Linked DNA regions of Homo sapiens: region 2 is linked to region 1. The links are contacts of gene promoters, found by promoter capture Hi-C in blood cells and fetal thymus (Javierre and others, 2016). All regions are on one chromosome and are shown on one strand. The core of a region is centred on a gene start or on the middle of the fragment in contact, and the rest is flanking DNA. Distances in the headings are between cores, read along the strand shown.

Region 1 (4,115 bases), core at 1,501-4,000:
GGATTACAGCAATTCTTTGAAGTAATATGTATTCTCTCCTATTTTTTCACCTATACATAAGATGCAGAATTCGAAGGACAAACAATCCAAGTGCCCATCAATGGACAATTAAATTGTGGTATATTCACCCAATGGGATATTATACTGTGAAGATGACTGGAAAATGGCGACATGCAATAGCATGGATGAATCTTACTAACATAGTGTTGATTGATATAAACAAGCTCCAGAAAACCATACGTGTGTGTATATATTTATGTATATTAATATAATGTGTGTATATATATACACACACTCAAACATATATGTGTGTATTGTTCAAAAACCACAGACACACATATGTATGAGTATACATGCATTTATACACATATGTACACACACAAACACATATATATAAAGGGAGTGATAAAATTCACGATTGTCATGGCTAATAAGTAACATGCAAATGACTAAAACCCAGTTCTTTCCAAAGCCTAGGTTCTGTATGGATCATGATATGTCTCAATGTGGTCACAGGTGTCTTTGTTGATACACTAGGTGTTTTTAGTGCCTTGAACTACAGCAAGACAGATGTTCTTGCTATTAAGAGTTTCCTTTAGGAGAAAAGAAAACAAGAGCAGAATCACTTAGAGAAAAATGGATGTAGAATGGATTGCTTTAAAACTATAAAAGTGGTATAGGATATTGGACTGAAGTTGATGTGATTTTTCAAACATGCTCATGTTCCCAGTTTGATTGACATATTTGGTAAGACTGAAAGTATTAAATACATCCTCTGGGAAGATGAAGAGCTTTGGGGGTAAATATTCAGCAATAAAACACAGTGCATGGATTCCTGCAGATTGAAAGATGCCAACATGAATACAGACAAGAAGGAGGGCAAAAGAAGTGATCCATGGTGTGACATAGAAACCAACTGTGGGGAAAAAGGCATTTCAATGGCAGGGGAGAAGGTTTTCCAGACATTGTTCTGATCAAAAATGTTTCTCTTCTTTTTAAAATGGAGGTGAAGAGGGTGCCAAGGAGAAGGCATTTTGTAGCTGGGGGTTTGCAAAGTACCCTTCAGCGTTTTCAGTATTTTCAATAATTTGTGAAGCAACCAAAGCAAACAAACACCCACAAAAAACTAACCTGAGACATGACAACGCAGTTGATGAAATCGCCATACTTTGAAGACTTAGGTAATTAGCTAACATATTCAACAGAATGAGTTAGTGGCAGAGCCAGAAATCAAGGCCAGCCCCATCTGGCTCCCCACACCGTGATCTTTCCACTCCGTCATGTGCCTCCAGCGTGAACCGGCCAGAACGTTGGCTGGTGTAGAACACCGGACCTGGTTGGTGATGCGGAGCCAGGACAAGCCCGGAGGAAAAGCAGAAGGGCCAAGAAAGTCCCTCACGAATTCCTCTTGGAAGGGATTGGTTTAACATTAACACCACTTTACAGTGATTTTTTTTATTATCACTGCTGGCGTGTTTTTATTTGTATAGAATTCATATGCTATTGATGCCCTAGGGTGGGTTTGATACTTCCTGATGAAATATTTGGTAGTTTAAAAAATTTCCAAAATTAAAAGACTGTGTTTGAGTGTATTGATAAGTAGAGGTAAGTACTCACACCAGTGTGGTCTAGCTGCTGATTACAGTCACTGGAGTGGGCGGAGGATCCCCAGGATGGGGCCTGGGCAACCTGCTCACGAGCCAGTCTGTTGCCATAGGGGTGTCAGCCTGCAGCCACTATATCAGTGTCGCCTTCTCCCTGCCTCCCCAAAGTCAGGGGGTCTAATAGGTGGTTAAGATCAGGGGTTTGGTGGTCAGACAAAGCTAGGTTTGAATTTTGTTTCTACCCCTTTTCATTTGCATAATTTTGGGAACATGATTTAAACTCTATGAGTTTTGCCACTTCTGTTTTCTTCTTTTCTGTTCTAAAAAAATCTTGAGAGGAACCAATTTGGGGGAGATTTTAAGCTTCCTAAAAGGGCCAATGAAGTTTTATATTTTAATCTTAACTTTGTTTTAAACCTGGTTTCTTCTTTATTTATTACTTTTTTTTAGTTTTGCCACTTCTAACATAGTGATGACAATTATACTTACTGAAGTCATTGTGAGGATCCAGTGAAAAATGCAGCCAAGGACTTGATCTAGTAACTATGCAATAAATGAAAGCCATTTCTATTGTTATTATTAGTAATAGTACTAGTAAACAAGTTTCAGGAATGATAAATGGGAAGGTTTTAAAAAGAGGTAGAGGCACTTAAGTGTCCCTGGGTTCCTTGGACTAATTTTCCATTTCCCGTCTTGACATCCTCTCCCCAAACTGGGTCAAGGCTTCATTTCTGATTGAATGGTGCAAAGCTGCATTCCTGGAGGAACAGCAGGGCCACTCTGGCTTGGCAGAGGCCTCCTGATGAAAGGTTAGTGCCAGGAAAGGCCTGCTTCAGTGAGGCTGGAGAGCAACCTGTAAAAGAGACAGCTCATCCAAGAGCAGGAGCAGTGTCAACGAATCCAAATGCAGCGCAGAAAACTCCCGACTCAACAGACACCTTTTCAAAGTTGAAACATCTCCCAGGCTCCTGAAGCCTGCTAATCAGATGTTTGCATGCAAATGAGTAAAAACAATAACAAGGAAAGATGCTGCATGGCGTGCCAACACCCCTAGTGAAGGACTATAAAAGCCCCTCTGTATCGGATGTCTTTCCAATGCAGGTATACTGAGCTTGCAACTTCCCAGCAAGGTCAGCACCAGCACCATGGCAGACGGCTGTTGTCCTGGAAACACCACAGCCATTCCAGCTGTGCCCACCATCACCACATACCCAGTTAAAGGTGGATTTCGACATGCTCTCTGTTTGCCTAGTTCCTGCCACAGCAGAATGTGGCAACTGGTCACATGCCAAGAAAGCTGTCAGCCATCCATTGGTGCCCCAAGTGGCTGTGATCCTGCTTCGTGTCAACCTACCCGCCTTCCAGCAACGTCTTGTGTGGGTTTTGTTTGCCAACCTATGTGCTCCCACGCAGCCTGCTATCAGTCTGGCACTGGTCAGTCTCCTTGTCTGGTTAGCTCATGTCAGCCATCCTGCTCGGAATCTACTTGTTGTCAGGAAAAGTGCTGCGATGCCAGTCCCTGCCAGCAAAGCTCCTGCCAGGAATCTGTCTGCATGTCTGGATCATGTCAGGCAGCTTGTGGCCAATCAGTCTGCTGTGATGCTGGATCCTGCCAGCCATCCTGCTCTGAAGTGACCTCCTGTCCGGAAACTTCTTGCCTACCAACCATCTGTACAGCTAGTCCATGCCAACCAACTTGGTGCCAAGGAAGTTCATGTCAACCCGTCAGTGGTGAAGGCCAGCCCTGTAAATCAACTTATTATCAACCCATCTGCTATATTTTCAAGCCTTGCCAATCAGCCCTCTACATGCCTGTTCCCTGCCAGCCATCGACTTGTGTGTTCAGTTCTTGCAATACTACTTGCTGTGTGCCTTCCCATTGCCAGCCACCTCACTGCCAACTGGTTCCTTCCACATGCTTCATCTACCAGCCAGTGGCTAACTGCCAGGCCCCTTGTTCCACAAAGAACTGTTGCAAACCAGCTTCTTGTGACACTGTGATTTCTGGCCAACCAACTTGTGATGGACCCCCTTCCTATAACCAGAGTGGCTGCAAATCAGCTTGCTGTGTGACTGGTTTAGGCACATCACCCAGTAGTGGCTCCAATTGCTTGCCGACTTCATGCCAACCCAGCTGTGAGTCCAGCTTCTGCAAGGCAACACTTTGTTAATGGAGCCCTCTTCACACCTCCTCTGAGGGTCTGCGGCTGTCTATAAATGCATAGCCATCCCTGGGTGCCTGCCTCCCACCGAGTACAAATGCTGCCTGCTTTCTAACTTTACCCTGATTCCACCTTCACATTCTCTCCAGGTGCTGACCAGGGAACTTGTCCAGGCACGAAGAGATCCTTCTTAACCGAGAATAACCTTTCAGCAACCATGGACTACCACACTGCTGCTTGCATTTCCTGATGATGTCAATTCATTTCACTTTAGCAAACCCTCTCTTGTTTCTCTTTCTTGATGCTGCCTGGTCTTTCAGAAGACCTCGTTGCTGCCAGCTGCTAATAA
Region 2 (3,825 bases), core at 907-3,406, 450 kb after region 1:
GCCCCGGTGTGTGATGCTCCCCTCCCTGTGTCCACATGTTCTCATTGTTCAACTTCCATTTATGAGTGAGAACATGTGGTGTTTGGTTTTCTCCGCTGGCTTATTTATGTATACAAGTGGGGCATCACATATGCATTTATTTGTGTATTCATTCTGTAGCTGTAATAGGTTCATTGCCTGGATGTTCACAGCAAGTCAATACCCAGAGGCACCAGGTTGCAACAGAGACAGAGGTTTAATGGTAAGGCCAACAAATGAGGAGAAAAGAGAAAACCCCAAATCCATCTTCCCGGGGACTCTGGGGCGAGGGTTTTTAAGAGTTTTGGAGTGAGCCAAAGCATAGAGATTGTTGATTAGTTGAAGAGTACAGGGTGAAGTCCCAGGACAGGGAGAGAAAGAAACTGTACTCTCATGCTCATTTGGTTTGTCTGTGGGAGTCTTTAAATTGGTTGGCGTTAGCAGTTCCACAGTAATTCAGGATCCGTTTAAGCAATTCTTAAACAAAAGCCTCATGGTTCTAACATTAGAATTTCTATCTACAGGAACAATGGGGATGCAAATGGTCAGAATCTAAGGTTATGTGATGTTTAGTTACAAGGAAGTGGGTCAAAGTGCAGCCTGGTTAAAGCTTAATTATAACTACATTTCTGCCCAGAATTCTTAATTCTGTGAGGATGGCTTCAATTCCTTCAACAAGCTTTTATTTAGCACCAACTATATGTAAGACTCTACATAGTCTATTGAAAATAACCTCAGTTTTTATGATCTAAAGGCAAATACATGATAAAGTTTCATACAGTTTTTACATTGTATATTACAATTTACATTGGATAAAAAGTACCTCCCAAGGTGCTTTACGGTGTTTTCACTGGATACCCATTTTAAACAGCCTTATGTGCTGATTCTGGATGATAATTTTAATGTTAAACTTCCCTAGCCTATCTAATATATGACTGAGTAGGCTGACAAATAATAAAATAAATGTTTATCATTTAAAAAATACAAATATATATAATCAGCATCCAATAGAGATAATCCTGGAACAAAAATTAGTACTACAGAATTAGATCCAGGCTAATCAGAATCCAGCAGTGGTGTTATAGGAAAGCACAACAATGAAGTCCTTCTCAGTGTTATTACTCAGAGGCTAGGGGTAAGAAAAAGTCCTTCAGGTGATGTGAAGTTAGGAGAATTTTACTCAGTTCCCCTGTGTGACTATGGAAGGTGTTTTTACAGCTTGCAGAGCTGAAGGAGATAGAACTGAACGCTGGCCAGTGGGAAGACAAGAACTGCTCAAGGGAAAGGAAGGTCTCAGTAGGGAGGAGAACCTGATGAAAGTTTTAGTCATCATTATCATGATTATCTGTCACCTCCAGGGTACACAGGTAACAGTTGCATTAAAGAGGAGATCATTTCTGAGGAGCTAAAGGACAATATAATATTATAACACCAAAGACACAAAGCTGAAGTAGCAGGTTACACAATTATTTGCCAATTTGTCCACAGGGAGACTTTTTAGCTGCACTTTCCAAAGCATTGGCACTCTGAAAACTTAATCATATAAAACTACATTCCCAACATGTAGAATATGTATCATAAAACACTTGCTATACACATATATCCAAACATCTTATGTCCTTATGATAATTTATCTCTGAACTAAAAATCTATTTAGGATCACTATGGATCATTTAAATTATGTTTCATTTTGTCAGAAAAAAAAATCAAATAATAAAGCATTATTTTAACTGGCTTTTACCTTTCAGTTAAATTGAACTTTAACTAAACAATCAAAGAAAAATTATTCCTCTATCAATGTTGATCTAAAAATCTTTCAATTGTAGCTTTTTAACTAGGTCAAGCTCCAAGTCTCCTGACCCTAGATTTATTTATTCATTCATTCAACAGATACCTATACATATCCTGGCCATATCTGGTATTTTGCCTCCTCATCCAAGCCACTATTTATGTCTCTCTCCTGGCTGACCACACAGCTTCCACCTGTACCCACCTCTCTTCCACTCTTTCCACCAGAGCTGGGGGGATCATTTTGAAAAAGCTGATCCAGTCACTCCATTGCTTAAAGGCCTTCAAAGGCTTCCTATTGTCCTTGGAATAAAGACCAAAACCCAGCAAGGTATGGCCTGGCCTGGCCCCCTCTACCCTCTTTCAAATCGTGTGCCCTCTCTCCCCCTCTATCTTCTCCAAACCTACTGGTCTTGTTTACTTTATTTTTGTATATATTTAAGATATACAGCATATGAGGTTTTGATATACATATACTGAGTGACAGCAATACTACAGTCAAGTAAATTCTAACGCCATGCTCCTTCCCACTCTGGCAGCTTCTCACAAACTTTCCCTCTTTACCTAGAATGAGCCTCCACCCCCATTTTGGCCTAGTTAACAATCCTAGTCACCAGTTAGGTCCTAACTCAAATGCCCCTCATTAACCAAGTCAGGTTCTCCTATTCTACCTTCTCATACTATACTGTAGTTATCCTTCACAGCTCTTAGCGCAATTTGCAATTATACATTTATTTGTATGAATATTGAAATAATGTCTGGCTCTACCACTGCATTCTCTCTAAGGGCAGCGGCCATGTCTGTTTTGCCCTCCACTGTAGCCCTGGCATCTAGCACAGTGCATAAAACAGCACATATACCCTACTGCATAGGAGACAATCAATACTTGTTGAATACCTGTGCACAGAATTACGTACAAATGCTAGAATATTCACTCAGTAAAAGCTGGAATAATGCCTGTATTACTCTCCTGGGCTCAAGCAATCTGTCCACCTCAGCCTCCCAAAGTTCTTGGATTACAGGTATAAGCCACTGTGCTTGACCACCTGTATTACTCTCTAGGTACCATTAAAAGCACTCAATAAACACTGGTTGCACAAACATTGAATGGTGGCGATATATTTCTTCTATTATTTTCTTGAAATAGTCATTGAATTTTTATCCACTGATTTATTAACTCTAAATTTTCCAACACTTATCTTTGGAAAGACTGAATGAACAAACCCTACCTTATTAAGGCGCAGAAGCTAAGGAGTGTCCATCACAAAGGAAGCAAAGAGGATGGTTTGCATAGATTCCATTTGAATCTATTTGTTTTGGTTACTCTATTTAAAATATGCTTGCGTCATATGAAATTGAATTCCACTTACTTCCTTCTCCTTAAATCTTAATAAAGGAATTAGGCTGGCTGTTTGAGACTAAAAAATCCATCAAGAAGTTGTTTGCATTTTACTGAGATATTTGTTGAATTCAATATTTCCAGAAAACCCTCAAGATACTTGTCACTCTATAGGGACACAAAATTTTCTTATCTAATATGTACAATCTTTAACTTGACAATTTCACAAGGCATATTGATATAAATCATATTGCTCAATATCTGGTGACTCAGTAGAAAGTGATCTTCAGTTTCAACAAGCAGTCTTTTAATTCATGACGCTTTTTCTTAAGGAAATTAACCTGAGGACTTTTTCCCATACATCTAAAGAGTACTAGAAGTTGCTTTCAAAACATAGAGTAACTTGGTTTCCATGTAGTATTTATAAGAAAAAAAAATCTGTAGATATTCACTTATAAAGGCAAGCTTGGAATCCTCTAATTCGTCATTAAAGTGTGCTTTGTATGTAGGCAATCGCCTAACCATAGATACAAAACTGAGTTATCTTAAAATGGCTGATGGAACACTGGCTTTCCATGAAAATATTCAGTCTGAAAATGTAATACTCCTGCCAATCTAGATCAAAATAGAACTTGTTCTCCCTTAATAACGAGGTGTTCTATCTAAAAAACATTGTGCTC

What was found. The method cuts DNA at HindIII sites, captures the fragments that hold promoters and counts their contacts. A CHiCAGO score of 5 or more calls a contact.
Region 2: a fragment that was not itself captured here is called in contact with the fragment with the promoter of KRTAP29-1 in region 1 in 3 of 17 cell types (endothelial precursors, M1 macrophages and M2 macrophages); the score reaches 6.8 in endothelial precursors.

The regions. Positions count from the first base shown.
Region 1 is chr17:41,301,486-41,305,600 of GRCh38, reverse strand. KRTAP29-1 (keratin associated like protein 29-1) reads left to right here and starts at 2,750. Exons shown (of 1, transcript NM_001257309.1): 1 at 2,750-3,775. The coding sequence starts at 2,750. The coding sequence ends at 3,775. The HindIII fragment of the contact is 6,603 bases long and covers 1,970-4,115 here.
Region 2 is chr17:40,850,071-40,853,895 of GRCh38, reverse strand. It overlaps LOC105371777 (a long non-coding RNA gene), which reads right to left and starts at 3,098. Exons shown (of 3, transcript XR_934754.3): 1 at 3,036-3,098. The HindIII fragment of the contact is 2,913 bases long and covers 700-3,612 here.